Regions from separate parts of the Homo sapiens genome. Here all the other regions are linked to region 1. The links are contacts of gene promoters, found by promoter capture Hi-C in human tissues and cell types (Jung and others, 2019). All regions are on one chromosome and are shown on one strand. The core of a region is centred on a gene start or on the middle of the fragment in contact, and the rest is flanking DNA. Distances in the headings are between cores, read along the strand shown. Region 1 holds the start of COL6A2 (collagen type VI alpha 2 chain). Region 2 overlaps PRMT2 (protein arginine methyltransferase 2). Region 3 has its middle 12 kb from the start of PRMT2.

Region 1 (3,184 bases), core at 375-2,874:
GCAGGCCAGGAAGGGCCGCTGGGCGGGGCTGGGTGTTTGGATCCTGGGCGGACCTGGGCAGCCCCGTCCCAGCCAGTGCCCCGCGGGCTGGGTAGGGCCCCTTCCATGAGCAGCACCAGGACCCCTGCTTGTGGCGGGTGAGCCCCGCATCAGGCGCCCGACTTTGCATAAACGTGAAATAGGCCACAGGAGGCAGCAACTCAACGTGCAGGGCCGTGTTTAAGAGAAAGCATCTCACCGGGCCTTTCTTTCCTTTTTTTTTTTTTTTTTTTTTTTTTTTGAGACAGTCTCGCTCCCTCACCCAGGCTGGAGTGCAGTGGCGCGATCTCAGCTCACTGCAGCCTCCGCCTCCCAGGTTCAAGTGATTTTCTCCTGCCTCAGCCTCCCGATTAGCTGGGATTACAGGTGCCTGCCACCACGCCCGGCTAATTTTTTTTTGTATTTTTAGTAGAGACGGGGTTTCACCCTGTTGGCCAGGCTGGTCTCGAACTCCTGACCTCAGGTGATCTGCCCGCCTCGGCCTCCCCAAGTGTTGGGATTACAGGCGTGAGCCACCGTGCCCGGTCTGGCCTTTCTTGAAATAATCACCAGAGTCGAAGTGCAAGGGGGCCTCCAAGCCAGAGCTGTGTTATCCCAAGAACAAGGAGCTCCGCGGATCGCAGGCCCCTCCTTTCTGGGTTCCGACCCCAAAGGGAAGGTCCCTTCTCCAGGGGCGTCCTAGGCGCGGGCACCGGGGTTCTGCTGGCACAGCCCGGATGGGCGCCGCTCGCCCGCACACCTGCGGCTCCACAGAGGGCCGATCCGTTCGGTTGCCAGCAGTGGAGACCCAGGCCCAGCGGTTCCACCAGCGCCCCGGCGGAGTCCCAGGGCGGGTGTGGGCGGCCCGGCAGGGGCTGCGGGTCGCTGTCAGCCCGGGTCCCGCCGCCCTGGGGAGCCGCCTCCGTCTGCAGCTTCTCCTGGGCCTGGCGGGGCCCTGGTGGGCTCCAGGCCGGGAGGGGCGCAGCGATGGGGCGTCGGGGCCACCCGCGTCCCCTCCCCGCCCAGTCCCGCCCTCGGGCACCGAAAGCCCCTCCTCCCCCCGCCCCGCCGCCCCTTCCGTCCGGCCCGGGGAGAGGCCCTGCGCCCCCGGAGGTCCCAGCCAGCCGGGGCGTCTTCCCCGCGGGCCGGAGCCGGACCCGAACCGCTCGCAGACGCGGGGCCTGGCGGGGCGTGCGGTGCCGGGGTCGTCTCGGGAGCGGGGGTCCCAGCACCGAGCTCGGGCGCAGACAGGGACCCCCCCACCCCGCCCAGGCCGGCTCCGCCCCAGAGGAGGCCGCGGGGAGGTGGCCCCAAGTCGCGCGCCCGAGGGTCGGACCCAGAGACGCGGAGCCACAGGGGCAGGCGCGGCCCCAGCCCCGCGAGGAGGAGCCCCGAACCCGCCGAGCCCCCCGCCGTCCCTGGGGCTGGAGTCCCCCTTCCCGGGGACCCGAGGGACGGAGCCGCCGCCGCCGCCTTCCCAGGACTCGGGGTCACCCCCCGCGGGCCGAGCGGCTTCCAGGGTGCGGGGTCCGGGAGGCGCTCACCTGGTCCCGAGGAGGCTCCGCTCCCGACGGCCCGAGGCGCGGGCGCCGAGTAAGCAGCAGGGAGGGAACCGCGGCCGGCGCCGCCCCCTTTATACCCCGCCCCGCCGGCCTGACCCGCCCCGCCGCCAGGAAGCGCTGCGGCCCCGCGGATGGGAGGAGGGGGCCGGGGGCACGGGAGGGGGATGGGAGGGAAGCGGGGACCCTCGAGGGCGGGAGGCTGGAGGAGGTGGAGAGGGTGGGGACCCCCCTGCAGCCCGGGCCGAGCTCCCCCGCCAGCCCCTGCCCGCTGCTGCTCGGACTTCGCGTCCCGGGCCCGGCCGCCCGTCGCCCCCGCCCCATTTCCCGGACGACCTGGCTGGGGCTGTGTCCGCCTCCGGGGCCCTGGGTGTTGGGGACCGCGCCCCGCACGCAGGGCCGACGGGGGCCCTGGGACTCGCCCCTTGGTAGCAGCTGCCCTGGGGGGTGCAGGGTTCCCCCCATCAGCCCCCCGACCCCTCCCCTACCCCGTGTCCTGTGTCCGGCTTGCTCAGGCCTCCCGCGAGAGGCCCCGGGTCAGGAGCTCCTGCAGAAACTGCCGCTCCTGGGGCCTGAGGGTGGGGAGCCGGGAGGGCAGGGACAGCAGAGCCTGGGCGCGGAGGTTGGGGCAGAGCCTGGGCATGCGGCGAGCCACCCCTGCCACCCCTTTCCCGCTGGAAACCACAGGTGGGCTTGGTGCTGGGCCCTGGGACCACCGTGAGGTCCCCACCTGAGCCCAGCCGGGGACAGAGTGACAGGGGTCCCTGGTAGGGCTCTGTCTGGGGTCCCCACTCCCCACCCTGGTCACAGTCCCCCAGCCAGGGCCGGGGTTCCTCCTTGAGGTGAGGCGCAGCCGGGTTGGGGAGAGGTCCCTGGGCTCCGGGACAGGGCTCCCTTCAGAGCTGTCCTGGAAGGTGGCGGAGCGGCTGGGGGCGAGGTCCCTCTTCTGATGAGCAGGTTTGCAAATGTGGTGTGTGTGTGTGTCTGAGACTGAGTGTGTGTGGTGTGTGCATCTGAGTGTGTGGTGTGTGTCTGTGTCTGAGACTGAGTTTGAGTCTGTGGTGTGTGTATCTGTGTGTGGTGTGTGTCTGTGTCTGAGACTGTGTGCATCTGTGAGTGTGTGGTGTGTGTCTGCGTCTGAGGTTGAGTGTGAATGTGTGTGTCTAAGTGTGCCTGAGTGTGAGTGTATGTGCCTAAGTGTGCCTGAGTGTGGCAGCCACATGGTAGCCATGAGTCCAGGGCTCCTGCCTGCTGCTCCTGAGCACAGCTGACGGCGGGCACCGTGTGCCACTCCCCTGGGTCCATGCCGAACTCTCACCTGGGCAATGCCTCCTGCTTCCAAGCCAGCAGCTCCCAGGGGGAAGCCAGGCCCCTCCTCACAAGACCAGAATCCTTTAGGGGTTACCTTGGCTCCAGAAGTTCTCCCTCGGCCTGGCCAGCACTGTCTAGGGGCACGTGCTGGCCAAGGCTCCCCGTATCTCCTTCACAGGGGTCTCACCTGTGGTCTGAGGCTTCCGTCCTCTTTGGCCACCCCCCCAGCATCCTTCACAGACATTGCACTGATAAATCTCCAGTCACGTCAGAGCTTCCATGGCACCTGCCTCTTG
Region 2 (2,750 bases), core at 1-2,500, 540 kb before region 1:
CCACCTCCCAAGCTAAAGCAATCCTCCTACCTCAGCCTCTCAAGTAGCTGGGACTACTCTTGGTACAATATAGATACTATTTCACATCTCAAGAAATTGTTTTACAAACATATTGTTTTCCCAGTTATCTTGTTTATGATCAGCGCCTCAAGAGTCAGGTCAACAGAAATTTTCCAAACTGAAGCACAAAATGAAAAAAAAAATAAGAATAGAGCATGAGACATGTCAAACAGCAGCAAAAATTCTAACTTATGTTTACATGGAGACCCCAAAAAAGAAGACAGAAGATGAGGCAGAAAAAAATAAATGAAGAGATAATGGTGGAGATTTTTCCAAAATTAAAAAAAAAAAACCATCAAGGCCAAGGTGGGCAGATCACCTGAGATCAGAAGTTTGAGACCAGCCTGGCCAAGATGGTGAAACCCCGTCTCTACTAAAAATACAAAAAATTAGCCGGGCGTGGTGGTGGTCACCTGTAGTCCCAGCTACTCGGGAGGCTGAGGCAGGAGAATGGTGTGAACCCAGGAGGCGGAGCTTGCAGTGAGCCGAGATCGCATCACTGCACTCCAGCCTGGGCGACAGAGCGAGACTCCGTCTCAAAAAAAAAAAAAAAAAAAAATGTAGGCAAAACACATTTCATAGTTTGACACAGCAGACTCACACTAGTAAATATAAACATAAAGTTGTCAGGTTGAAGGGAAATGATCCTACATGAAAACACAGAATGCAAGAAAAAGGGAAAGACCTCAAAAAAGGCAAATAATATGTGGGGAAACATAAAAAAGACTATTTATTTTACTTCATAAAAAAAGACTCGATAGCGTAAAGCAATAATGATAATTTATTGTGGCGTTTACAACATATGTAAAATTAAAATGTTACATCAACAGTACAAAAATATGGACGCTGGTAAATGAAACTAACTTCTAAGATCTTTACCTTATGAAGTAGTTAAAAAAAAGACTGAAATTGAATTAGGATGCATACTGCAATTTCTTGGGAAAACACTAAAACAATATAAAAAGATACAGCTAACAAGCTATTAAAGGAGGTAATATGGAATTATAGAAAATCCTTTATTTATCCACAAGAGGGCAGGAATGGAGACATGCAGGAAAAAGAAATGTGACAAACATAAAACAAACAGCAAAATGTTACACTTCATCACATTCGTCATAACATGAAGTGTTAATAGACTAAATACTCCAATTAAGAGGCAGAAATTGTGTTTAACAGAGAAACAAAAAAACAGACCTAAGAGCTAGACCCAACTAGCTCTTTACGAGAAAAACGCTTTAAATATAAGGACTTAAGTTGAGGGAAAAAAAATACACACACACACACACACAAACACACACACACACACACTTTATGTAAGCACTAATGATAAAAAAAAAAAGCTGGTACAGCTATATTAGCATTAAAAAAAAGGTACACGCAAGAAAAGAAGTATTTATTAACAGGTAAAAAGACAGATGTTTTATAAAAAATAAGGTCAATTAATCTAGAAAACAAAACCTATACTAAATATATACACCCAATAACAGGGACTCAAAATATACAAAGCAAAAAGTGATAGAACCAAAAGGAAAAATAGATATATCTACAATCATAGTGGAGAATTTTTAGTAACTGATAGAAGATGGCAAAAAAAATCAGAAAAGATATAGAGATTTCAACAATACTAATAACACATTTGATCTTCATGACATTTATAGAATGCTACACTCAACAACTGCAGAATACATAGTCTTTGCAAGTACTCATGGAACACTCACCAACATATTCCATATGATTAGAACATAAAGCAAGCCTGAATAAATTTCAAAAGACTGAAATTATAGAGGATGTTATGTTCTCTAACCAATGTAATCAAAGCAAAATTAAATAAGAAAAAGTAAAATTTCCAATATGTTTAGAAATTGGTCAACATACTTTCAAATAGCCCAGAAAACTTCTAATTTCCATTGAATATATTAGAAAATATTTTGAAGAATGAAAATGCATTTAAATATGTGAGGTACAGCTACAGCAGTGATTAGAGGAAAGTCATAGCTTTAAAGACTATTAAAGAAAGGTTTAAAATCAATTATCTAAGCTTCCCTCTCAGATGTTATAAAAATTAACCCAAATACAACAGAATGAAATAAAGACAAAAGCAGAAATCAATGAAATAGAAAAACAGAGAAATCAACACAGATAAAATTGGTTCTTTATAAAAATAAAATTGATAAAACCCTAAGAAAAGATTGATCAAGTGTGAAAAAAAGAGATAAAACACAAATTACCATTATAAGACATCTCTTCTATAATGGAGGGTGGTATTAACAGGATGAACACAAGTATTACTGAAATACTACCATGACCAGTCAGCAAAATTGAAATAACAAAATACCATTTCTAACCCATGAGACTGACCAAAACTTAAAAGTCTGATACTGTCAAGTGTTAGTAAGCACTATTGTGGGCTACTGACAGACCTGTGAACTCGTAAAGTCATTGTGGGGAACAACTGATCATTATCCAGTAAAACTGAAACTTGCAATCCCTTGCACCCTGCAATGCCATTACTGGAGCACAGAGGCATGGAGACGGATGGTCACTACAGCATTGTTTGAAATAGAAAAAACTAGAAACAATTTAAGTGTCCAACAAAAAGGGAATAAGTAAAATGGGGTATATGCCTACTGTGTAGCAGTGAGACTGCAACAGGCCCATACACATATCTACAAATAGGATACTTTACACTT
Region 3 (3,184 bases), core at 685-3,184, 530 kb before region 1:
GAGTGGCAGGGGCCAAGGTGTCTGTCCTATCCCCATCCCCATTAGACATAGGGTGAAGAGGTTGGGCCAGGTGCTTGGCTCTTGAGGTCACAAGTCTGTGGATTGAAAAGGAAACACATCGAAGAGGCTGTGCCTGAGGAGCCGTGCCCATGGAGCCTCACCCCGCATGGAGATGGTTAAGTGGTGAGACCTGGAGCTCTGGCTGCCATAATGGCACGAGACCATGGGTGTCTGGGTGAGTCTATTTTGCATGTGTAGGGGGTGCAGCCAGAGGGCAGAATGTGTTTTCCAAAGTTGGTCATAGCAAGGTCTGCAATCCTCCCCACATGCTCTTCTCTTGCCATTTCATCAGGAAGTGGAGTCTGGCTGGGCATGGTGGCTCATGCCTGTAATCCCAACATTTTGGAAGGCTAAGGCAAGTGGATCGCTTGAGGCCAGGAGTTCGAGCAGCCTGGCCAACATGGTGAAACCCCATCTCTACTAAAATTACAAAAATTAGCCAGGCGTGGCGGTGCATGTCTGTAATCCCAGCTACTCAGGAGATGAGTTACAAGAATCACTTGAACCCTAGAGAAGGAGGCTGCAGTGAGCTGAGATTGCACCACTGCACTCCAGTCTGGACAATAGAGCAAGACTCTGTTTCAAAAACAAAAACAAGCAGAGTCCAAGCACCTCCTTGAGTCAGAGCAGGGCATTTCCTCCTGCTCCGATCCACGACAGCAGCATTTCATGTGGTTGGGACTTGGACTCTGGAGGCAGGCCCAGGTTCAAATCCTGGCTTTGACACTGAGTGATACAACCTGAGCCTCAGTTTCCCCCATCATGATGGAGAAACATGCGTTTCCTATGCAGGCTGAGGCTCCGAAGGCTGCTAAGCTCCTTTCCCTGCTAAGGGGAGGTCCTCATTTATGCCATTGCCCAGGTTTCCTTTGCATGTGACTTATCACACGGTGCTCTGGAGCCCTGTCCTTGGAGACTCACACCCCTGTGACCAGGATGGGGTCAGGGCTGTGCTTAATCAGGTGACTGTCCAAGGAGCCCCCTTCCACCTCCAGAGTTCAGAACTCAGTGTCTTACCTTCCTCCCAGGAACCAGAGCACACTGAACACGCAGGGCCTGGCAGGGCACCTGACGGCCAACATGTTGGGGGGCATTGGAGCACACAAATCAACACTCCAGGGGCAGGAGTGGTTGTCACTTGAGTTGCAAAATCTAGGGACCCTAAAAGAGTCCCTGTGAGGCCTGGCTCCTTGGTGTGCTGAGCAACTGACCCATCCCCCACACTCTCCTACCCAAAGAGGCCTCTGGAGCCTTCCTACGGCCAAGGGACCTGGCCAGCCGCACAGGCTGAGGACAGAGCGAGCTCGGCCAGGGCTCCGTGAACAGCTGTCCTTCTGTGGCCATCATCACAGCAGCAGCAAGTTCAGGGTGGGGCATCAGCACGGGGTGTGCGCTCTCTCATCCTGGGCATCTGAGTTTTTCGTTTTAAAAGTTGTGATCACCAAGACGCTGTCCTTGTCTGCCTCTGCATCTCATGGTCCCCGCTGTGGGGAGGCGCGCAGCCAAGTGGGCCTCGCCTGGGGAAGGGAGGTGCATGCATGCGACTCAGGCAAACACGGCCCCTGGGCCTCGTTCCAGGGAGCCCCAAAGGCAGAGTTCAGAAGATTGCAATTAATTTTCTAAATTAATACACAATAACAGATAATTAATTTTAAATGTTGAACTTAATGTTAGTACATATGTTACAGGAATTACATCAAATTATTTGATTTTATTATGGAGTCTGTCTTAAGTTTTAATTCCAAAAATAGTTTATTCCTCCTATGATTTAAATTTTATTTACATTAGCACTCAATAGAACTACTAGATGCTAAATATACCTGTGGATGTATTCCAGTTACACTAAAAATTGAAATATAGTGCCAGGTTATTCACAGTGTTTTTAACTTGAAGTTTGTTTTTCAAAAGCAAAAGAGGTTATTGTTCTGCAGTAGCAAAACTGCTAGGGATTGAGCTTCCAGATTTTTTAAAATTATATTTATATATTTAGACGGAGTTTCATTCTTGTTGCCCAGGCTGGAGTGCAATGGTGCAGTCTCAGCTCACTGCAACCTCTGCCTCCTGGGTTCAAGCAATTCTCCTGCCTTAGCCTCTCCAGCAGCTGGGATTACAGGCACCTGGCTAATTTTTTTTGTATTTTTAGTAGAGATGGGGTTTTACCGTGTTGGCCAGGCTGGTCTTGAACTCCTAACCTCAGGTGATCTGCCCACCTCGGCCTCCCAAAGTGCTAGGATTACAGGCGTGAGCCACTGTGCCCAACCGAGCGTCCAGATTTTAGGTTCTCAGCTTTCCTCTTCTCTCATACGTTTGGTATGTTCTTTATTTAAATCTCTAAAATAAAACAACTCATTTCCACCTCCTGGGTCGTTGCTGTCGAGGTGGTTCAATTCCACGCAGGCATTTTTACAGTCAAGGCGTGAGCATCCTCACTTGTTAAGTAGAGTTTGTTTGTTTGTTTTTCTTTGTTTTTTTGAGACAGAATCTCTGTGACCCAGGCTGGAGTGCAGTAGCAGGATCTCTGCTCACTGCAACCTCCATATCCCGAGTTCAAGGGATCCTCCTGCCTCAGCCTCCCAAGTAGCTGGGACTACAAGCATGCGCCACCACACCTGGCTAATTTTTGTATTTTTAGTAGAGACAGGGTTTCACAATGTTGCCCAGGCTGGTCTCAAACTCCTGACCTCAAGTGATCCGCCCGCCTCAGCCTTCCAAAGTGCTGGGATTACAGATGTGAGTTAAGCAGTTTGAACAATCGATTGATTAGACTTTTGTGGCTGCTCATTTGGGCATGTGGCCGAGTACTGTGCTGTCCTGGCCCACAGCGTCCTACAGGAAGGGACGGGCTGTAAGACGTGGGATCTTCTGAAGTCGTCAAATGAAAAACACTCCTGTTGAGTGAAAAAACAAATAGGCTAATCCTATGATTTTTTAAACATTTAAACCTGACATGATTTTATTGCAAATTTCCAAGAATCCTTAAAAGTTATAAAAAGCATAATCAAAATAAATATCTGTGACAGAGTTCTACAAAAGGGAAAACTCAGTTTTCCTTTTGAGATCTTGCCCCAGCATCAGTTCAAACACTTCCTCTTATATTTCACCAAGACTCAGTTCCTGAGCAAGA

The links. The method cuts DNA at HindIII sites, captures the fragments that hold promoters and counts their contacts. A contact is called where the count stands out against the background at its distance.
Region 2: a contact is called between a fragment that was not itself captured here and the fragment with the promoter of COL6A2 in region 1, in 1 of the 25 tissues and cell types used here (lymphoblastoid cells).
Region 3: a fragment that was not itself captured here is called in contact with the fragment with the promoter of COL6A2 in region 1 in 1 of the 25 tissues and cell types used here (lymphoblastoid cells).

What each region holds. Positions count from the first base shown.
Region 1 is chr21:46,096,552-46,099,735 of GRCh38, reverse strand. It overlaps COL6A2 (collagen type VI alpha 2 chain), which reads right to left and starts at 1,624. Exons shown (of 28, transcript NM_001849.4): 1 at 1,563-1,624. COL6A2-DT (COL6A2 divergent transcript) reads left to right here and starts at 2,091. Exons shown (of 2, transcript NR_186433.1): 1 at 2,091-2,264. RefSeq lists an enhancer at 1,507-1,801. The HindIII fragment of the contact is 26,496 bases long and covers 1-3,184 here.
Region 2 is chr21:46,638,308-46,641,057 of GRCh38, reverse strand. All of the region lies in intron 3 of PRMT2 (protein arginine methyltransferase 2), which reads right to left. Among named protein-coding and RNA genes, the nearest start is that of PRMT2, 4.0 kb to the right of the region's middle. The HindIII fragment of the contact is 4,299 bases long and covers 1-2,750 here.
Region 3 is chr21:46,622,527-46,625,710 of GRCh38, reverse strand. No RefSeq gene overlaps it. Among named protein-coding and RNA genes, the nearest start is that of PRMT2, 12 kb to the left of the region's middle. RefSeq lists an enhancer at 824-1,324. The HindIII fragment of the contact is 7,233 bases long and covers 1-3,184 here.